Regions from separate parts of the Homo sapiens genome. Here all the other regions are linked to region 1. The links are contacts of gene promoters, found by promoter capture Hi-C in blood cells and fetal thymus (Javierre and others, 2016). All regions are on one chromosome and are shown on one strand. The core of a region is centred on a gene start or on the middle of the fragment in contact, and the rest is flanking DNA. Distances in the headings are between cores, read along the strand shown.

What was found. Contacts are between HindIII fragments. The CHiCAGO score rates a contact against its expected background, and 5 or more counts as called.
Region 2: a fragment that was not itself captured here is called in contact with the fragment with the promoter of APIP in region 1 in 10 of 17 cell types (non-activated CD4 T cells, activated CD4 T cells, naive CD8 T cells and 7 more); the score reaches 13.2 in non-activated CD4 T cells.
Region 3: a contact is called between a fragment that was not itself captured here and the fragment with the promoter of APIP in region 1, in 16 of 17 cell types (naive CD8 T cells, activated CD4 T cells, non-activated CD4 T cells and 13 more). The highest score is 23.1, in naive CD8 T cells.
Region 4: a fragment that was not itself captured here is called in contact with the fragment with the promoter of APIP in region 1 in 16 of 17 cell types (activated CD4 T cells, non-activated CD4 T cells, naive CD8 T cells and 13 more); the score reaches 16.9 in activated CD4 T cells.
Region 5: a contact is called between a fragment that was not itself captured here and the fragment with the promoter of APIP in region 1, in 3 of 17 cell types (total CD8 T cells, M2 macrophages and non-activated CD4 T cells). The highest score is 6.5, in total CD8 T cells.
Region 6: a contact is called between a fragment that was not itself captured here and the fragment with the promoter of APIP in region 1, in 1 of 17 cell types (megakaryocytes). The highest score is 5.3, in megakaryocytes.
Region 7: a contact is called between a fragment that was not itself captured here and the fragment with the promoter of APIP in region 1, in 3 of 17 cell types (M1 macrophages, megakaryocytes and M2 macrophages). The highest score is 7.1, in M1 macrophages.

The regions. Positions count from the first base shown.
Region 1 is chr11:34,914,664-34,917,752 of GRCh38, reverse strand. It overlaps APIP (APAF1 interacting protein), which reads left to right and starts at 1,374. Exons shown (of 7, transcript NM_015957.4): 1 at 1,374-1,525. The coding sequence starts at 1,469. It overlaps PDHX (pyruvate dehydrogenase complex component X), which reads right to left and starts at 1,135. Exons shown (of 11, transcript NM_003477.3): 1 at 938-1,135. The coding sequence starts at 1,097. RefSeq lists an enhancer at 834-1,133 and silencers at 1,304-1,353, 1,374-1,713. The HindIII fragment of the contact is 9,412 bases long and covers 1-1,898 here.
Region 2 is chr11:35,327,757-35,330,922 of GRCh38, reverse strand. All of the region lies in intron 1 of SLC1A2 (solute carrier family 1 member 2), which reads left to right. Among named protein-coding and RNA genes, the nearest start is that of SLC1A2-AS1, 48 kb to the right of the region's middle. RefSeq lists an enhancer at 1-537. The HindIII fragment of the contact is 2,961 bases long and covers 145-3,105 here.
Region 3 is chr11:35,376,039-35,378,959 of GRCh38, reverse strand. The region is part of intron 1 of SLC1A2 (solute carrier family 1 member 2); the gene reads left to right. Among named protein-coding and RNA genes, the nearest start is that of SLC1A2-AS2, 42 kb to the left of the region's middle. The HindIII fragment of the contact is 4,207 bases long and covers 1-2,921 here.
Region 4 is chr11:35,350,560-35,353,807 of GRCh38, reverse strand. The region is part of intron 1 of SLC1A2 (solute carrier family 1 member 2); the gene reads left to right. Among named protein-coding and RNA genes, the nearest start is that of SLC1A2-AS2, 67 kb to the left of the region's middle. The HindIII fragment of the contact is 2,713 bases long and covers 413-3,125 here.
Region 5 is chr11:35,276,306-35,279,335 of GRCh38, reverse strand. The region is part of intron 9 of SLC1A2 (solute carrier family 1 member 2); the gene reads left to right. Among named protein-coding and RNA genes, the nearest start is that of SLC1A2-AS1, 4.0 kb to the left of the region's middle. The HindIII fragment of the contact is 3,887 bases long and covers 1-3,030 here.
Region 6 is chr11:34,511,173-34,514,315 of GRCh38, reverse strand. ELF5 (E74 like ETS transcription factor 5) reads left to right here and starts at 522. Exons shown (of 7, transcript NM_001422.4): 1 at 522-639. The HindIII fragment of the contact is 861 bases long and covers 952-1,812 here.
Region 7 is chr11:34,564,130-34,567,052 of GRCh38, reverse strand. No RefSeq gene overlaps it. Among named protein-coding and RNA genes, the nearest start is that of LINC02707, 5.3 kb to the left of the region's middle. The HindIII fragment of the contact is 656 bases long and covers 942-1,597 here.

The DNA.
Region 1 (3,089 bases), core at 125-2,624:
TAAGGAACCTTTAGGAACCCCAATACACTCATCTTACCATATGACTTTGTGTGATTTTTTTTTTCTGAGCCTAAGGTAGCTCAGAATATGAAGGCAACGTCTACTAGACCTATTTAAATTAAAATTCATTCTGTAGAGTGCCAGGAACGATGATTGGCAGGTAATACGTCACACTAAAAAACGTCAGTCCTATTCTCCATCCCCGCCTCCCTCCAACCTTCTCCCAAAATAAGGAAAAATAATACCCGGCCTGCCATTTTGCATACTGTTAAATACTGCAAGAATTGTGTTAACTGCATCAATATCATTACTAAACAACAATTTTCTATAATAAATTTTTGGTATGATTTATCTCCTAAATGTTTGCTCTTTCAAGCGAATATTTGCTTGAAACATTCTCCTGGACCTTTGTCTATCGTGATGCCGTAGGAATTTACAAATTTAAGTCTTCCACGAGTCATGGCGTGGGGTAAAACTCGACTGGCCTCAATGAAAACACCTCCTAACAGAGAGAGGCCTAGAGAATAAGTAAGAACTCCCAACAGTGGCTTTTCAATCTCGGCAACCTTGGGCAGCTTTTTCTCGTCCGAGACGTTTGACAACCCTAAAGAAACCTGAGCCTTGATTGGAAAGGGGGCTGAGGGAGGAGAGTTTGGGAACCCTCTCTGCGCCTCACAAATAACCCAAATTCCAAGGCAAGGTCACAAAGCCATACAAACCAGGGGGCCTAGGGCAGAGTCGAGTTCTCTCAGCTGCCAAGAAAGCCCTTCACAGCATGCATTAGGCCAAGTCGGCGGACCCCAACCGGAGAAAGAGGAAAGGGAATAAGGAGCCCGCGCACCTTCACACCCAAAAGCAGGCCCTCAATCATAACTGCCCCTGTCCCAGGCCCATCACTCAGCTACACAGAGAAGCTGAGCGAGCCCCGGCCACTCACCCCGAAGCCACTGCGTGCTGTGAAACCATCTCCAATTAGCTCCGCGGCTTACAGACCACCCAAGAGCCCCCTTCACCAGCCCTACGCTTCGGCGGCCGGGGAAGCCCACAAGATAACGCAGCAGCCGCGGATCACAGCCCAGCCTCCAGGAGGCCGCCATCTTGACGGCCTTCTCACTGGCTGCCCGCAGCACAGCCTGATGTCCAGCATCAAGGCCCCGCCTCCCGCATGGTTGGCCACGCCCCCAGACGCTAGCGGTGCCTTTAGGTCTCTCAGACTTGAACCCCCGCCCCCCAACCCAGCCCCGCCTCCAACCACGTTGGCCTTGCCTCCCGGGAAGTCAGGTGCGCCGCTGGATATCTCAGCCGGCGGGGCCTTACCAGACCCCGGCCCCCGCCCCGTTCGCCCCGCCCCCGGGCTGCCCTCAGCGCCGCCTGATTGCATTTGCGGCCTCGCTGCCGTATCCCAGGCTAAGCGCCGCGCGCAAAGCCGTGCGGAGATTGGAGGCCGCGCGGGTCCCTGGTCTGGGCCATGTCTGGCTGTGATGCTCGGGAGGGAGACTGTTGTTCCCGGAGATGCGGCGCGCAGGTAGGGGCGGGGCCACCGGTGCCCGGTATTCCCAGGAGGAGAGGCCCAGGCGGGACCCGGCGGCTGGAGCTGGGCGCAGGGTAGCGGGCCGGGCGTTTAGCTGCGGGGCGGGGTTTCGGGCCTGGCCGTTCGCTACCCCGGCGCACCGCGACCTTGGCGTTCGGAAGCAAGGCTGCGAGGCCCCAGGAGATCAGTGGTCTCGGGCGGGGCGCTCCGATGGCGGGAGCTGGGCGCCAAACGTTGGAAAGAAGCAAATAACTGAGAGAGGAGAGCGTTTAGGTGACCTCACCGGGTATTTATCAGGAAGGCAGGCCAGAGAAGGAATCGTGAAGCACCGAAGTGGAGCTGGGGCGAAGACCGCGCCCCCCAAGCTTCTTTTCTGCGCCCTGACGACCAGTTAGGCGTTTGGGGGGACGTTTGGCACTCGGGAGACGTTTGCCGAACCGGAGCTGTGCCTCAGCTGCCAGCGCTTTGCCTTTGAGCAGTTGCTCCTTGCCTATCTCCGTTTAGATGAATTGTGGGATGATCATGGGAACGATTCTTCCTTAAGCCGAAGTCAAAGGGAAATCCACCCTCACGCTGCATGTAGTTTTCGGTCATTTACACAAACCAACAGTTTTATGGAGCGCCTTCTACACGCTCAGAGATAGGGATACGTAAGATAAATGGCCCAGGGTCTGGAGAACTAGACGAATAAGCAGTTTCAGCACAATATGATAAACCCCACCTAAGAGGCAGGGAAACCCCTCAAAATTAGTTTCCTTATTCCCCCTATCTTATTCCTCCTATCTATATCTTTCTTAGGGTTGAAAATCCTAATTAAAAAGTAGTAACTCGCGGGAGATTTCATTGCTAAACATTTGTCAACCACTTTCTTGTTTGAATAAGTGACTTCCCCAAATTAGCAAAGACGACTCTGAAAATAGAATGCTGCATAGGCAAGATTGGATGAGAGAGAGAAGATCTTGGAGACAGGACAGGTAACTGGAGATCGTTCCTGGGCAAGTGTGTATGGAGAAGTGTCCGTACCCTCAATCAGTAAATCTTAGTGTAATGTCATCAGAATGAGCATCAAAGAGAGCCTTAAGGGACCCGAGAATAAACTAGGATTCTCAAACCAAACATGGCCCACAGACAGCTTGGTGGACAGGCATGTTTTTTTTTTGCTGCACTCAATGTTCATGAAAAATTTGAGCCAACCTTTTTTTTTTTTTTTTTTTTTTTTTGACACGTTTTGCTCTTGTTGCCCAGGCTGGAGTGCAGTGGCGTGATCTCAGCTCACTGCAACTTCTGCCTCCTTGGTTCAAGCGATTTTCCTGCCTCAGCCTCCCAAGTAGCTGGGATTACAGGCGCATGTCACCACACCCAGTTAATTTTTGTATTTTTAGTAGAGACTGGGTTTCACCATGTTGGCCAGGCTGGTCTCGAACTCGTTATCTCAGGTGATCCACCCCCCTAAGCTGCCCAAAGTGCTGGGATTACAGGTGTAAGCCACCACGCCCTGCCAAGCCAACATTTCAAAATCCAGAATCATTTCAGCTTCTTTTAAAACCTCAGAACACAT
Region 2 (3,166 bases), core at 376-2,875, 410 kb before region 1:
CAACTTATTATCATATAGTTCTGGAGGCCAGAAATCTGAGTTGGGTCTCACTGGGCTAAAATCAAGGTGTCAGCAGGGCTGCATTCTTTTCTGGAGGCTCGGAGGAGGAGTCTGTTTCCTTGCCTTTGCCAGTTTCTAGAAGCTTCTCACATGCCTTGGCTCCTGGCCCTTTCCTTTATCTTTAGAGCCAGCAACATTGGGCTGTGTCTTTGTCATGCTGCCATCCTTCAGTTCTTTCTTTTCTGTTTCCCTTTTTCATGCATAAGAACCCCTGTGATTCCACTGGTCCCACCTGGAGAATTCAGGCGCATCTCCCTATCTTGAGGTCAGCTGATTAGCAACCTTCTTTGCAACTGCAGCCTTAGAGCCCCTTTGCCATGTAATCTGACACATCCACAGGTTCTGGGGATTAGGACATGGACATTTGTTGGGGCATTACTCTACCTATCACTGGTACAGAATAAAAAGTCAATAAATGGTTCTATTCATTACCAGTACTCCCTACCACCTTCTTTCTCTACTGTGAAATTACCTATGCCCTTCAGTTTTTCAAAGGCAGGGCAGAAGCCTCAGCTCTGGTAGAATCTGACGTGCTGGAGGTTGAAAGTGAGAAAGGCAGTCTTTGATGGGCTTAGGGGAGTGGGGAAGTGACCAGCCCTTACCTGGAAGGTTGTGTGCAGGTCTGGGAGGCACAGGCAAGTAAGTAGCTTGAGGTGCTTTAACCAGGATAGTGACAAACTTGGGAGAAGAGAAAACCCTGAGCAGAAACTTCATATGCCTCAAAGGTTGGTAGATGGAGAAGGGATTCAGCTTCATTTTCTGTAAGTGTCGTGATTAAGTGTGTGCACCTTGTTCAGGCCAAGCTGGGTTGCCATCCCAGCTCATCTACTCACCAACTGCCTGACTTGGAGCAAATGTGCTCCTCTCTCTGACCTCCAGTTTTTCATCTATAAAGAAGGACTAATAATAGTAGCTATCTTGTGAGAGTGTTGTGGGAAGTCAATGAAATAATGCATGTAAAGCATCCAGTACATTGTCTGATGGCAACTGTTATTATTAGGTAGCTCCACAGGATAGAAAAATAACCTGTGGGTAAAAGCTGCAGGGAAACAGATATAGGCTCACCATAAAGGAAGGGCTTCTTAATAGTCAAAGCTATCCAACGGCGGGATGGTTAGAGTAGAAGTGATAAGCTGCCCTGCACTGCAACTGTTCAGGCATTGACCAGACATTGGTATGTGGATTAGCTGCAACAGTGTCATCTGGGTGCTTTTGCAAAAGCCCAGAGGTCTAGGCCCCATCCAGATGTGATGAATTGGAATATTCAGGGATGGGGCTTGGAGATCTGTTTTGTGCTTTGTTTTGTTTGTTTTTATTTAATATGCTGTTTTTTAAAGAGTAGTTTTAGTTTTACAGGAAAATTGAGTGGAAAGTACAGAGAGTTCCCATATACCCCTGCTCACATTCAGGTGCAGCCTCCCCAACTGTCAACATCACCCACCAGAGTGGTACATTTATCACAAGCGATGAACTTACATTGATACCTCATTATCATGCAGAGTGCTTAGTTTACATTAGGGTTGGCTCTTGGTGTTGTACATTCATGGGTTTGGACAAATGTATGATGATGTGTATTTACCATTATAGTAACATACAAAGTATTTTCATTGCCTTAAAAAATCCTCCGTGCTTCACCTATTCAGCACCATGCCCCTCCATAGTTTTGCCTTTTCCAGAATGTCATATAGTTGGAATCATACAGTATGTAGCCTTTTCAAATTGGCTTCTCCCACTTAGTAATATGCATTTATTTTTCCTCCATGTCTTTTTTTGGATAGATAGTTCATTTCTTTTCAGTGCTGAATAATATTGCATTGTCTGCATGTACCATGGTTTATCCATTTGCCCACTGAAGGATGTCTAGGTTGCTTCCAAGTTTTGGGAATTATAAATAAAGCTGCTATAAATATCCCTGTGCAGTGTTTTGTGTGGACATAAGTTTTGGAGATCTGTATTTTTAACAAGTGATCCAGAGACAGAGTTGGGGCCACTAGACCAGATAATCATTTGTCCAGAGGCTGAGAGGGGACAGGAAGACTCTCTAGTCCAGAAATTCTAGGGTTCCATGACTGTTGTATGTAGCTCTTGGATCAGGCTCTGGTTTGGACTAGGTGTTAACTTTCTTCTCTCTGGGATCCTTCCCATCCCCCAACAGCAAAATCACTCTTTTGGCCAAATGTTCAGTGTCGATGTCTATTGCTAGCATGAAATTGCCTAATATAAAGAGCAAGTTTTCTCGGGCTGGAGGGAGAGTGGGCTGACCAGTTTTTCCAAGTCCAGGACTGACAGGGATCAAATCCTAGCTCTACCATCCATTACTTTTGTGACATTGAGCAAGTAACTTAACCATTCAATGACTTCATTTTTCCTTCAGTAAAAGTTGCTGATAGTAGTACCTATCTCCTGAGGTTATTGTGAGAAATCAATAAGTTCATATATAAGAAGACTTAGAAAAATACCTGGTGTGAAGTTAGTTTTGAGTAAATGTTAGCTGCTGTCATCATTATTGTCACCATCATTATTCTTATTATTACCAGTTACCAGACATTAGGGTCCCTCTGATGGGGGAGTCCTTCCCGGTGAAGAACCAGAGTTGGAGTGAACCCTTGAGGTTATTTCACAGCAGCAAGTGCTGGCTGAGTCAGTGGGAATAGGATGGTTCCTGTGTGCCCTCGTTGCCTGAAGGGAGGAGTCAGTTGAGTGGATGCCATTTTCTTATGATGGTACATCTGGGGCCATGGCACCAGCAGCATATATTGTCCAAGACAGACAACAAGGCCATAGCTCCCCAGAGCTCACTTTGCCTTTTCTCTCATTTAGCAGCACTTCCTCTCTCTATCTTCCCTCTCCATGTGCTAGAATGCAAGTCTCATAAGTAGCTACCTAGTGCCTTGGTGTAGATGGTAGTTCTAACATGTCCATTGCTCTGTAAATACCCCAAGAAAGAGTATACCCATAAAACACTGGACTCAAAGGCAAAGGACAGCACAGGTTTAACTTTGCTGCAGAACCACAGCACAGGTTTAACTCTGCTACTTCCAAGCTTCATGAGCTTGGGCAAGTTTCAGAATCTTCTGGAGCTTCTGTCTTTTCATTTCTAAGATAG
Region 3 (2,921 bases), core at 28-2,527, 460 kb before region 1:
ACTGCGCCTGGCCATGTGTCACAAATTTTAATGCATTTAATTCACAGACAATGGAGCTTCAGACTTACCCCTCCATCTTCTCCTTCCCCTTCCATGAGCTACATTTAGCCGCATTGGCTATGCATCCTTGCCAATCTGGCCAGGTATTGCCAACTTTAACTGCATCCTTATAGACAACTATTCATAGAGCTTAACTGAAGAGAACCACGGGTTATATATTAGTCTGGAGACACTCTTGCCTGTCACACTCTTGTTGCTTTTGTGAGCAGTAAGTTCAAGGCACAAGACTTATCAATCCAATTGAGAGCTTCAGTTACAGGCAGACTTATTTTTTCACCCTGTCCTTCTTGTCTCCAATGCATTGGAAAGGTTCTTAATCTTATACTAGGTGGTTCTTAGTTTTCATGAAAATTTTCAGTTATTCCTAAAGACACAAATTGCTGATGTGAATAAGGGTGAGCGCTTTCAGAGATAAAGATGCTAACAAATCAGTGCAGGTTTGTGACAATTTTAAACTGCTTCAGACCAGCTAGCATCAATATTTTTTCTTGGTATTTCTTCTGTTTTTGATGAACGATGTCTACTATGCAGCCACAAGCTAATACTGCTGTCTTCCCAGGAGGCAGGGCCCTGGTGTCTTGGGTATCATCACCCAAACAACGTTTCAGAATAATCAGTCCCTAAAGTAATGCTTTGCAAAGGCATCAAGCCACTGTGATTTGAGCCTGGGCTTTAGGATCTGGGGGTTCTGCCTTTTTCTAAATTTGCATATTGCTTTTCCCGTTCAGAATTTGGAGTTAGTAACTGTGGAAGGGCTTTTGGGATGGGAGGCAGTGGTGGTGCTGATTATGTTTCCAAGTGTAAAACCAATCAGCTGGGTTTGGATTTCTGGGAGCTTGTGTGGTTCTGTATGGCTTTATTCTTCTGGCTGAAACTACTAAAGGAACCTCCAAGTTCCTGCACAATGTTGCTTCCATTTGCCATGTGCAAGTATTTTTATTTATCAATGGCCAGTTAGTGAAATAGGTTGTGAATCTGTGTTTCTTAAAGAAAAGCCAACACTGGGATAAAGAAAAAGAATGCTTGCAATTTTCTAGATAAGCTAGAACATGTCAGTATGTAAAATGAGAAAACAAAACAAAAACGTTTCTTTCTGTTCAGGGTCTGAATTATCTGGATTTGACAAATACGACAGGCAAAGTCAATGGAATAATCAGCATGAATATGCCTATTCAGGCCTATCTTTGCAGCTTACTTTTTAGGGGTTGTTGGGAGGTTCCTTTCTTGGTATCTACTTGATGATTTTTTTTCATCTTGCGAGTCTTCCTTGGAAATAGAATGAATGAAGAGAGCACAGACCTCGGCCATCAGGGATGTGTGGGCTTAAGTTCTGACATAGCCACTTAGCTCTCTGGTGCTGGACAAGTTCCTTAGCCTTTCTGAGCCTCAGTTATCTCACGAAAATAGAGTTGATCATCATCCCCCTTTGGTAACGAACAGATGGAATGACGGGTGTAGAGCATCTGTTACACAGTGCATGCTCTGTGGCATTCATCTGGCTGACCTGCAGCCCACTCTCTGAGTTGAGAACAAACCAGGGATGATTTGACAGAGATAGCCAGTCCAATATTGGTTGAAACAAGAAAGTTTGAAAAGGAAAAAGATGCCTACAGTCTCTTGAGACACGTGGTTTCCATTCTCTATCCCAACTTTACTGCTGACTTGCTGTACATCCTTGGGAAGTTGCTTAACCCCTCTGACCTTCAATTTCCTGATCTGTGAGATGGGAATAATATTAATGGCTCCTTCCTCCTAAGGATGTAGTGAGCGCTAAATGAGTTAATGGGGATAGAGTGTTTACGTCAGTGCCCCGCACATTGGAAGGGGGGACATACACCTATTTCTGCTTTACCATTCTGCCTGTCAGCCATTCTGATCTTCATGAAGACACTTGGCCTGCTCATTCCTCAGTGGTTATAGTACCAGCTGCATTTCTGGAAGCTCACTGCTGGCTACAAAATGACCTTCAACCTCCAAGTGATCCAGGCTTTTCCTAGCAGCTTCCATCAATGTGCAGGGGTTGAGGAAATTTGTCGAATAGCGACATTGAGGATATGAGTCAAAGAGAGGGGGAGATGATAGATTCATATCTTGAAGCATGTGGAAGTAATCTGGTTTTTGTTTTTGCTTTTTTTTCTGAAGCAGATCCAGGTGTCTAAATGTAACCATTGCCGGCTTAAAAAAAATTATTATTCACAATTGAAAACAGATATAATGTTAAATCAAGATGAGTAATTATTCACATACATAAGTGGAAACAGGATAATTTGGTTACAATTATAAAGATAAACATGTTGGTTTTTAACCCAAGAATGGCAGTGGCTTTGATCCTTTTTTCATTTACATTTTTTGTCTTTTGAAAATTTTTAAAAATTTCAGACAATTTTAGACTTATAGAAGAATTGGAAAAATAATACATAGAGTTCCCACATTCTCCTCCCTCAGCTTCCTTTAATGGTATCGTACGTATTACATAACCATAGAGCATTGATCGAAACTAAGAAATTAACTTTGCAACAATTGCTAGAATTTACTTGGATTTCATATTTTTCCAGTAATGTTCTCTCTCTGTTCTAGGATCCAATCCAGGTCCTGCACTGCATTTAGTTGTCATGTCTCTGTAGCTTCCTCCCATCTGAGATAGTTCCTCGGTCTTTCCATGTCTTTTCATGATCTTGACACTTTCAAAGAGGGTTTTTTTTTTTTTAATAGAATACCTCTCAATCTGGGATTGTCTAATATTTTCTCCATTTCTAGCTTTTAATTGACTGCACTAAACATACTTTACTGTTTAGGCCAAGGATCCAGTGACAAATAGGAGTTTTTAAGCCTAATAGATTGTCTAGATATTTCTGAGACTA
Region 4 (3,248 bases), core at 520-3,019, 440 kb before region 1:
CAAAAGCACAATAATAATAAATGCCTAAATACTATTTAACATGCAATTAATTAAATATCAACATGGTCTGTTGATGGTAGAAAGGTGACAAGACTTTCTTCTTTTCTGAAGGTCTAGCTCATGTCCACCCTTGCTATTAGGGATATTTGCCAAGGATCATTGAAAGAAATTTTGATCATCTGAGGTGGGAATTAATCATTTGTCTTCGAGCTCTCTATTAGAGACTCACATATTTTAATGTAGCTAAAATTTATTGGAAACCCTATTGTGCTCTTAATAGGTGATTTAGCAGTGAGGAAACAAGTTCCAATTCTGTTCTCAAGAAGGGTACAGTCTAGTGGGGGATGATGCACATCCATCAATCACACAGATCAACAGGGAGTTAGACTTTTTCAGTTAGGTCAGGGAAGCTTCCTGGAGGAAGCAACATTTGATTCAAGATTGGAAGGATGAGCAGGAGTCTGCTAGGTGAAGAAGAGAAGCTGAGGCATTGCTTCTGTGCATTTGTATGAACGGTTAGGGGAGTGGAAACCTTAAGAGCAAAGAGACAAGAAAAGGAGAATGTCATCCCAACCCCATCTGTCTCTATCAGAAGGTTTCTAAACAGCCACATTCACTCCATTCTAAGTCACCCTTAGTTGTAAATTGCACTCACAATGTAATAATAGTTTTTCAAGTAAAAAGAGACATACTATAGTAGATAAATGTTGATATTGACTATAATATGCATCCCAATTTCAGAAATGTTAAATCTTAAAAAAAAAGCCTATCTTAGAAGCAAGGACATAAGATATCAAAATTCAAAGTCGGTCTTGAAATGATTATTGCTATTATTGTCATTGCTTTTATATTGAGGTCTCTGGTTGTCACTGCTGGGACAGTTTTCATTGGCCATCTCTGCTGCCCAGGCACATGCTTCCCCACCACATTGATAGGATCTCTTGCTTCCTGCTCAAACCTCCCCTCTTTTCTCCCCAGCTCCTTAATTCCCAATCCCTTGAGTTCCCATTGATTTCTCGCATGGTGCAGTTTAGCCATGCATGAACTCACTGCCAACCATCTCAACCTAACCCTCTGAAATGTATCCAGTAAGGTGTATTACAAAACAAGGGCAGCTCTCTCAGTGCAGTGAGCATGCCCTGAGACAGCTTGCAATTCTAGACAGGGGTGAGAATATCAGGAGGAGAAATTGTGCCACTCCTTTGCAGAAGGGAACTGGGGCCTTACTGCTTTCTCAAGAGGCAGCATTGGAATGGCTTCTAGAAAGATGGGCTTGGCCTTGGGATGGTGAAAATGCTCTCTGTCTGTGACCTCTGGGGCTCAGCCAAGGCAGGGATGGATAAAGAACTAACCTGCCCTGCCTGCCAGCCAAAAATAGTGCTAACTGCGTCACAGAGCTTTTGGTAATTAAACCTTCCCTCTGCAGAAAGCTGTGGCTTGGACTGATAAGGGACCGTGGATGTGTTAAGGTAATTCACTCCCAACACTGACATTCTTCACTCAACATCAGAAGCAGGCTGGAAAACTAAGTGGAACTAGATGAAGTTTGAGATTCATAACCAGGGCATGGTATGTAAGTAGCAAAAAGACAGAACATGTGCCAACAAAGTTTCTTATAGATTAAGTAGTTCTTTGTTTTTACTCTGAGTCATATGGACTTTTTTCCTTTTTGGTCAGTCAGCTTAGTTAGCAACTTTGTTTCTGATCATAAAAATGCTTCATTTTTGCTGTAGAAAGTTGGAAACATAAAGGAAAGAAGCAATAAGGAAGTAAAAACCCATCCATCATCTTATCATTCACAGATAGCCACTAGGAACCTTTTGTGTCCACTTTTTTCTCGATGCAATGTACAATTTTTATAAAATTATGATCAGGGCCAGATGCGGTGACTCACGCCTGTAATCCCACCAATTTGGGAGAATGAGGTGGGTGGATCATGATGTCAGGAGTTTGAGACCAGCCTGGCCAATATGGTGAAACCCCGTCTCTACTAAAAATACAAAAATTAACAGGGCGTAGTGGCATGCACCTGTAGTCCCAGCTACTCAGGAGATTGAGGCAGGAGAATCGCTTGAGCCTGGGAGGAGAGGGTTGTAGTGAGCCGAGATTGTGCCACTGCACTCTGGCCTGGGCAACAGAGCAAGACTCTGTCTCAAAAAATAAATAAATAAATAAAAATAAAAAATAAAATAATAATCAGAGTATATCTGCAGTTTTCTGTCTTACCTTTTAAATGTACACACAATATACTCCCAATCATACTGTATCTGATGGGGTCATTCAATATTACTTGAAAACCAGACTGTTTTTAGCTTATAAACCTCCTTAGGGCCTGAGCTGAGTGGGGTGAAGTATCTGGGAGAACACACGTCCATGTCAGTAGGAAAGTGCTCTGGTCTGGAGTGTTCTTCAGACAGGATCCATGGTCCCAGGAGAAACTGACATGCTGTCTGGGAAAGCAGAGATGTTCTGGTCATTTTGGGAGGCAGAGAAGGAGTGGGAAGTTCACTGGGGAGAGCATTATGCAGAGAGAAGAGCATGGGCTCGTAAGTAAAGCATTCCTGGCTTGGATTCTGTCTCTGGCACTAATCAGTTGCCTGATCATGGTTAGCCTACCTAATCCTCTAAACCTCAATTTTCTCACTTATAAAGTGGGACTAATGGTATTATGTATTTCACTGGGTTATTGGAGGATAGTACCTGACTCAGAGTAAGTACTCAATGAATGTTAGCCATCATTAGTATATTATTTTTATTAATCTCTCCAACAAGGACTGGGTCAGCTGATTCTATTGGATGAGGATAGTGGGTAGATGGGTTCACTCTTTAAGATAATCTTTAAAAGGAAGTAAAAATATTGGTGGCTTTTAGTATTAATATGTTCTCTCAGAGAGAAGGTGTATTTAAAGTTTAGGGGAGTCAGAAGAATGAAATCTTAAGGCTCCTTCCATTTCATTTTCCAGACCATGAATTGAGGACACTTCAGTGCCTGGTAGGAGATTTGGGTTCAGACCAACAAGCAGCTCCAATCTCAGCCCAGGCATCTTCCTAATCAGGCTTGATGGGCAGCTGCAGCTATAAGTATTTAAATAAATCATCAAAGGGTTTGTTGCATCAGCCAAGCTTTTTAGAGTCCCAAATTTAAAAGCTGAGATAAAATCTTATCTTGCTGTGTCTTTACGGAAGGATCCCCAGATACCTGGGGTTAAGGTCTGGCTCAAGTCAGGACCTAGGAAGCAGCATATGTT
Region 5 (3,030 bases), core at 392-2,891, 360 kb before region 1:
TCACAAAGGTGGGAAAGTCTAACCAGATGGTCTTCGACAAGGGGGTTGGAATGGATCCCCTCTAAGTGCCCACTTGGGCTTGGATGTTCTGTGAGATGTAATCTGATGCCTCCTGTCCAGCACTGGAGTTAAATGATAGGGCCTCCGGCAATGCCAGTCTTCAATGTCAGAGGCACAGAGTGACAAGTGCTGGCCCAGAGTCCCAAGGCCAAAGTGCCCACACTTATTTTTCAAACTGCCTGACTTGCCAGTAGCAAATTTTCTGACATTTATTGGCATTGATTTTAAGAGCCAGAAACCACATTTTTCTTTTTTTTCAGATGGAGTCTTGCTCTGTTGCCCAGGATGGAGTGCAGTGGTGCGATCTTGGCTCACTGCAACCTCTGCCTCCTGGGTTCAAGCATTTCTCCGGCCTCAGCCTCCTAAGTAGCTGGGACTACAGGCATGTGCCACCACACCCGGCTAATTTTTGTATTTTTAGTAGAGACAGGGTTTCACTATGTTGGTCAGGCTGGTCTCAAACTCCTGACCTCAAGTGATCGGCCCACCTCAGCCTCCCACAGTGCTGAGATTACACGGGTGAGCCACTGTGCCCAGCCTCAGAAGCCACATTTTGTGGACTTGAGTCTGTTTCTGCTTCCCACTCCCACCCTTCCAAAGAGAGGAAAATGCAAGTGGCCGAAGGGAGGAAGGACAGCTGGGAAGGCTAGAAAGAAGCCTGACTTCTCCATAAGATGTGCCTGCTGTTGGTGCAGACAACAGGGCTTAGGTTAGAAATAAGAAGTGCCCAGCACTTTGGGAGGCTGAAGCGGGCAGATCACCTGAGGTCGGGAGTTCAAGACCAGCCTGAACAACATGGAGAAACCCCGTCTCTACCAAAAATGCAAAAATAATTAGCCAGGTGTGGTGGCATATGCCCGTAATCCCAGCTACTTGGGAGGCTAAGGCAGGAGAATCACTTGAACCTGGGAGGCGGAGGTTGCAGTGAGCTGAGATCGTGCCATTGCACTCCAGCCTGGGCAACAAGAGTGAAACTCCATCTAAAAAAAAAAAAAAAAAAAACAAAAAAAAACAGAAGTAAGAAGTGGCTCCCTGAACAGAATCAGTTCAACTTGGGAGGGCTGCAAGGAAGGCCATAGATTTTCCTGATTGGCTCCTTCATCATCAGAAAATGCTCAGGAAATACCTTTAGCGGAAGGTGACAAGCAAACAAAATAGCCTCATCTCTGTCTCTGCCAGTCTCTCAGGTGGTGGTAGTGGCGTCCCTACCTGCTAGCTTGGTTATTCTCTGTGTCCTATATTGGCCCCAAGGGACAGCCTTTCTCATGACATCTGTTCAGACAAGGCAGCTGAGAGTCAATGGTGGTGTATGGGTGAGAAGGATTGTGAGAGAAGGGGATGAAGGATACAAAGGAATGGGGTAGGCCATGGATGGAAGGGGGACAAAAGGGAAATAAAGACATTGGCAGTGGTCTAGAGACAGAGCAAATAGTAGCAGCTCAATAAATGTGAGCTACTCTTAACCACATAGTTGCTGTGTGATAATTGGGTCCATCCACATGAAAAGAAAGACGAAGGAAGCCATTTAAGTTCTGCTGGCTTTCCCCATGACTTGTTGCTTACTTAAACCCTTGACTCTTTGCCTCTCAAGTCTTTTCAATGCTTGTGGTCATTGAGGGTCCCTCGCCTGCTGTGACAATATTGCCTCATTTTTTTCTTGGGCTTATTTCCAAGGCTTTAAACCACCATTAGAAATTCATCTTTTTAAAAAATATTATTATAGAGGCTGCCCCCCATTATAATACAAATGCCTTTGAGTGGAAAAAAATGCACTAATATGATCAGGAGTGAGGAAAAGGGGTGATATTTGGTGGGTACTGCAATGTCTTTACATCTGTCTCCATTTAATCCTTAAGGTGCCCTATGCTGTATTTCCAGATGAGAAAACTGGGAATCAGAAGGGTTGAGTCTTTTGCCTGATGCACAGCAGAGCTTGTATGGCCAGGTCAGGACACTTCACCCAACTCCACACAGCCTCCTAATTTGTACTAAGTGTTCTAACAGTGGGGAGGAGGAGCAGAGAGGCCCAGAGTTGGAACGGTTGGAGAAGACACACTTATTAGGGCCACCCACTGGGCTATGGTTTGAATATTTGTCCAGTCCAAAACTCATGTTGACGTTTAATTGCCATTGTAACAATATTAAGAGGTGTGGCCTTTAAAAGGTGATTATATCGTGAAGGCTCCACCCTCATGAGTGGGGTTGGTGCATTATAAAAGGGTGAATTCAGCCCCTTCTTGCCCTCTCTTTGTCTTTCTGCCTTCTGCTATGTCATGATGCAGAAAGAAGGCCCTTACCAGATACCAGTTTCTTGATCTTGGATTTCCCAACCTCCAGAATTCTGAGGAAATAAATTTCTGTTCTATATAAATTACCCAATCTCAAGTATTTTGCTATAGCAGCACAGACTAAGACACACCTGATTCTGCATGCTAACCAGAGAAATATTTTTGACCTATTTTTTTCTTCTCTCAGCATGAAAATAAAACAAATAGGCTCAATGAGGACAAATGGGGTACAATCAAGGTCTTGGCCACCCTTAGAATTCAAGTCTTCCAGCCCCAGTGGGTCTGCCATTGTAGGTCCTGGTCCTTGGCAGTCACTTGTTTTCAAGCCTGTTGGATGTGAGTCACTTCATGAAACATTCAAAACCCTGCCTACTTCTGACCTAAATGTTAGCAAATGAAACAGGAGGGCTGGGCCCTCCCAGATCACCCCATGCAGGTGCTCACATGCTTACACTTGCAAAGGAAAGCAGAGCGTCCTAACTCCAGGGCTGAAGTGTGTCAGCAGAAGGGAGTTGGCTGAATTTTTTTTTTTTTTTAAAAAGGATGATACATTTGGATTAACTATGTTGATGAAATCATATAATAGAAAACCCCATCCTAGGCTGGAGCTGGGAAGAAAGGAGCAAATGAAGAGCTGTTGTCCAGTTCTGGGGCTCTGATCTCAAATGGAGGGAGGAGTGTG
Region 6 (3,143 bases), core at 133-2,632, 400 kb after region 1:
CTCATGAAGCCCAGAGATGTTAGCTACATTTTTCTAGGTAGCACAGCTAGGAAATGATGGACACTGAATTTGAATCTAAAGGCAACTAGCTGCAAAACCTGAGGTCTTAACACTGGGCCTATAATGCTCTTCCTTCTCACCACATGGGAAAAACGGAGAAAGACATGATCTTACAAAAGCACTGGGCTCAGCCAGCCTGGGAGAGAGGCAGCGCAGACCGGCACCAGGGTGGAATCTCTGTGTTTCCCCTCCAGCTTGCACAGAGGAAAATTCCTCACCAAACGCACGATCCCCGCACAGCTCCCAGGGACAAGAATTTTCTGCTTGTTTACTGAGTCCCCTGGGCTGGGAGTGGGGGGTTGCAGGGCAGGGGTGAGCTGCGCACAAAAGCAGGATAAAGGTAAACTTTCTGCATATGAGAACCATTTCCCCCCCTCCAAGGAGCCGTGTCACACTGTATGTCACCGTCATCAAAGGGGCTGTGCGTAAACCTGAAAAACCAAACGGACCTGTCTGTAGGTGTCACTTATATCACAAGGCTACAGGTGTCTTTATTTCCACTGCACGCTGGTGCTGGGAGCGCCTGCCTTCTCTTGCCTTGAAAGCCTCCTCTTTGGACCTAGCCACCGCTGCCCTCACGTAAGCGCCTTTTCTTTGCTTTTTTGGATGAATCGTAAGGGGTGTCAGGGCTCAGAGGCTCGGCCTGGGGCCTGGGTCTGCTCGTCCATCTCCAGCTCCAGGGCCGGCACCTGCGCTGGGTGCAGTCCCAGGGCCTCCGGGAGCTGTTTGACACGGATGTGACGGCTTGCCTCAGAGAGACCTGCTTGCCTCCGCAGGCCGTGTGGCCACCAGCCCTCCTCACAGCCACCACTCCCTCTGGATCCCTTAGCTGAACCAAGGGGAATTAAGAGAACGCGCCCAGGCGCTCAGTTCTCTATCCTCCCTAAAGCTTCTTTAGGAAGGGAAGCTGGATTTTACTCAGAAAAATATTCAGCTTCAAGGAAAGCCCCCCACCTACCCTTCTCCCCTGACTGAATTCCTTTCCCCACCGGCCTGCCCACTGTCCCCCACCCCCTCGATACAGAGAACTCCCTTATTATAGTTTGGGGCATTTTCAGGAATTTGTACAAAACAGTTTTAAAAGAAACCCATTTGCCCTCTGACATCTCCCCAGAAGAGAATGCTTCCAGAAAAGCAATGGTTAGCGTTTTTCCACTGTGTTCTCAGGCCTTGTCAGACTCTGCAGTGTGTGGGGTTTCTGTGGGGTTGCCCCCTGCTGACAGCGACAGGTAGCACAAGCTCCCTCCTCAGGCTGAAGCCGGGCCTGCGTGTGGATGCCTTTTGTACGCCCGAAAGTGTGTCAGACATCACTAGGTGCAATCGCTTCATGTTACAGATGAGGAAACTGAGGCCAGAAAGGCTAGATGACTTAGGGAGGCAGCTCTGTGGTTCAGTCTAGTCCAGAGACCCAGGGAAAGGGGTGGTTTGCCCATCCGAGTGAACGCTTGATTCTGTTGTCTTCGTGTTCTCTGCAATACTGTTTTTCATAATCTAAGGTATTCTCGGGCCGGAGTTTTCAGTTTGGTCATCTCCCTTTTTCAGAAGTCACCAGAGTGGCAAATTTTTAGATACATTGTTGATGGCTGATTTTTCCCTCTAAAACAGGATTGAATATATGTATTATGCCCCGTCCTTTGCATATATCGGATTGCATGATTTAAAAAAAAAAAAATCCCCATTTTAGAGATGAGGAAACCGTAGTTCGAAGAGGGGCATGAATATTTATATACCACATCTATATGAAAAAAAGCTTAAGAATTTCAGCAGTCTGGGTAGTAAGAAATGTGCCCCACGTTCGCAGCAGCAGAGGTAGGATTTAACCCCTGATATATGTAATCCAAAACTGGTAAGCTTTGCATCGAAGCCTACAGCAAACTACATGGCATACCTTTTTGGATCTTCGCTGCACCTTCAGAAAAACAGCTACAAACAAACAAACACGCAAACTCCCTAAGCGAGCTAAAGAAAAATGAGGAATCACTTGACAAGAGGTCAGCAAATTGGTTCTCACAGTTGCTAGGGTTCCTCTCAGAAGAACAAACCCTCAAGCACCCAACCCTCAATCTTTCTTTAGCAGTAAGTGTTGAAATACTCCACTGGGTTCTCCTCAGTGGGCCCCTTCTTAGGGAGGTCCAAGGGCTGGGAAATTGACCCTCCCTTGCTCACAAGTCTTGGGACGGAGTGGACATTTGGGTATCACTGAGGCTTTAAGGAAGGAAAACCGATTTTCTTCCCAATGATACCACTCAGAGGGTGGGGTTGAGGAAGCCCAATCTTGGCCACTTTTTTCTATATTTTGCACCCTATGGCCTAGTTCTGCCCAGTGATGATTTGGCCCGTAAACAGCCAATGTGTAGATGCTTAATTGGGCCAATTTTTGGTCACATGCCCAGAGTGAAGTTGATGATCACCACCAGAGTCAGGAAGGAATTTTCCTCCTCTGGCAAACTGGCCAAGGCTGAGTGGTTTGCTCCTTCCCCTCTCTCTGGGAGGCTGAGCAGGGGTGCCGGGTTGCTCAGGCCATGGGAGCCACACCTGTTATTGCTGCCTCTGATTTGTGTGACACTGAGAAGCCCACAGGCCTGTCCCTCCAACTCGGTGGACCCTCTCTGTGTGCATTTGGTGTGTGAGCCAGCTCTGAGAAGGGTTCAGAAGCCACTGGAGGCATCTGGGGACCTCAGCTTCCATGCCATCTCTGCCTCACTCCCACAGGTACCTGCAGCCAACTTTCTCATGTGTGAAGTGAGCCCACCTGATTCCACCACCTTGTGTTAATCATTCTTGAGCTTTTCCTACTTACTAGGCAGCTAGAATGATGACTACATTTGGGGGAAACTGATTCCAGCTTCCACGGATCTATCGGTGGGCAGTGAGTGAGGGTCCAGAGTGTTTAAGGTACCCAGCTAGGCTGGGCAAAGAATATCCAGTTGTCCTGAGGTATCTACCTCCAACTGGGGTAGAAGGCAGTGGGCACAGGAGAAAAGGGAGAAGAGGAAATCAGGGAGCTTTTTCAGCACTAAAAGTTCAGTCTGTGTGTAGTGGTTGGATTTTCCTCCAATTTGGTGGACTTGCTTGACCAAAAA
Region 7 (2,923 bases), core at 20-2,519, 350 kb after region 1:
CTTCTGTTACCAGCACAAATACAAAGAGTTTTCCACAAAATCTCAGGAACAGTCCCAAGACCCACGTTAGCCTAACTAGAAGCGTCACACTGGGCCCAAGAAAGAAGTCACGTGACACTTTTTCTGGGTTTATTGCCTTCCTCCAATAACTACCACTAATTCACCTACACCATCCCTTCTCTCACCCCAGACCTGGCTCAAGGTGCCAAGAAAGATAGAAGGATAGAGAAGGAGAAATTCAAATAATGGAGGAAGAACGGACATTGTGTGGCCAACACTTAGATACCAGCCTTCTAAGGGACTTCCATGTGTTCCATTTGACTCTGTGCCATAGACAGATGCCCCTCAGAACCTCTCTTTCTCCTCAAAGTCCCAAGGATTGGCATCCCAAGCATCTGGCTTGCGGTCTCTGGCATCCCTGCCCAGGACTCAGAAGCCCACTGCACACAAACAGGTACATCTGCAGGTGGAAGAAGGAAGGGGATGCACACCCAGAAGCCATCTTTATTCCTCGTCAAGAGGAAGGACAAAGCAGGCTTGGACAAAGGCAGAGGAATATAGACTAGGCTCTCCCTACCTCATGTCTGGGGTAGTACTCTGTCTGACCCAAAGGTGAGACTCCAAGCTTATTGCTATAAAATCTAGATCCAAGCCTAGCAGGCTGAGCTCACTAGAGTAGAGTGCAGTCTTTGTTCTGGCTGCGTATGCTCAATTTGCTTGGGAAGCAGACCCAAGGTCACCCGAGGACACTTTCTATTCTGTTCTGAACCAAAGGAGTTTAGAAGCTACCCTTGCAAACCTCTAGGTCTCTGGACCCACTTCTCTGCCCCCAAACATAGCTAGGAAATTTTTTAAAAATAATGAATGAATGTTAAATAAATGGGTGAACTAATAGCTAACTCAGGCCCTTCAAGACCATAGGCTATCCCCAGAGACAAGCTTCTTTGACTAAATCCTCAGCTGGGAAGGATTAAAGGCCGGTCACCCCACCCTCTGCATGGAGGCAGCTGCTCTCAGCAAGCCTTCTTATAGCTAAGTTAGACTCACCAAGGGATTCTCTGTTACCTCCTACCCAGTCTTTGTCCACCCAGTCAGGACATGGTGCCTCTACTGGGCCAGCCAGCCCAGCACTCATCTGGCCAGCCTGGCTACTCCCTCTTCCCTGTGCCCACCAGGGAGAGAAAGGCAAGTACGTGGCACAGGTGAATTGCAAGGACTGACTTCAGTATAAATCATGGGTCAGTCATTTTTGGCTGAAAAACTCAGCAAGTTACTTAATTCCTATGTGTCTCTGTTTCCTAAACTGTAGTCAGGGGATAATGACATCTACTTCATTGGTATTAGACTCCCTTCACTAGAATGCAAATGTCACAGAAAGGGGCTGCCAGGATGCTTAACCTCAGGGCACACCATTCATAAGGTGGCCCATGTATGTGGCTCCCCCTAGAGTTGTGTGCTGTTAATTGCATGTAGTAGCCCTGCCACCAGAACAGGGATTTTGTCTGTCTTGTCCCTTGATCTAAATTAAGCACCTAGAATAATGCCTGGCTCATAGTAGGAACTCAATAAATATGTGTTGGGTGAATGAATAGAAGCTTTGTAAGGATTTAAGTAAATAATTTTCATAAAAGGACTGTCTTTTGAGTCAATGCTCAATAAATGATAGTAGTGATTATTGTTGTTGATAATGTTATTAAGTATAATGGGAAAAACCTTTCCCCCCAGCCCTGCCTTTTATAAATCCATGGGTGTGAACTTGAATGTTGAGGGCCATTCTCCACCAAGCCTTCAGCTCCAGATGAGAATGGCTTAGCCCACATTTTCTCACCAGGTTACAGGAGACTTTGCCCTTCTCACCTGTCTTGTCCTGGCCTTCCTGCCTTCAGCCCAGCTCTGCCCCTAGTCTGACCCCAAGGCCACTACAGAGCAACAGGACTGCCATCTGGCTGCCACAGGGCTGGCTGTCTCATCTTCATGTAAAAGTCAGGACTTTCCTCTTCTCTGCCTTTTCTTGGCTCCCTCATTTGGCACCAGGGACCCTATTCAGGAGCCCAGTCCTACTCAAAGGCCACAGCTCTTTCTTGGAAATGACACAGACCTGAAAACAAGGGGCTCAAATATCTTTGCCAACAGGGACATTGCATAACAACAGCACCGTGTTCTGGGTGAAGGGAACCCTGTTCCAGAGAGGAGAGGGAATTCTTCCCTCCACTCGGGAGGCTGTGTGGATTTTTAAGCCACTTCTCCTTTGTAGGGACAGATTTGGTTTTGAAAATCAGGTGATCTTGGCTTCAGCCTGCAGGTGCCTCTCCTTTCCCACCGTCACCACACCCACAGGGACAGCCTCCTTTCTGGAGACAATAGGTGGCTGCCACCTTTGTAGAAAATGAAGTGTCAGGAAGGAACCCACCCCAGAAATAGGACCTCCCTGAATGCCTGGGATTCCACTATTAGTGATTCACTCCTTTGAGTTCAGCACCACCCACTCTCTGACTGTCTTGGAAAACACAAATTCTCTTGGTGCGGGGGGCGGGGGAAACACATTAAGCTCCTAACACCTTGAGTGAAGAAATTCATCAGGTATGTTATTTCCTCCTGATGGAAGCAGTATCTGGGTGCTTGGCCCTACATACTATGGGGCTAGAGTGGGGCTCACCAGAATCGAAGAAGAGAGAAGATTTGGAAGTCAAACTAGGTCAGTGTCACCAGGTTTCCCAGAGCCGGGCCTGCCTACACCCTCCAAAGACAGCTGGCTCTGGAGCTGTTTATTTTCATGAGTTGATCACCAAAGGATTAAAAGAGGCAACACACACAAAGGGCCTACCTCCATACCCCCCATGTAATAGATACTTAACAAATGTTAGTCTCTACTACCCCTCCCATGAATGGAAGAATATATTTGTCTTTCTGGAGAGGGCTGGTC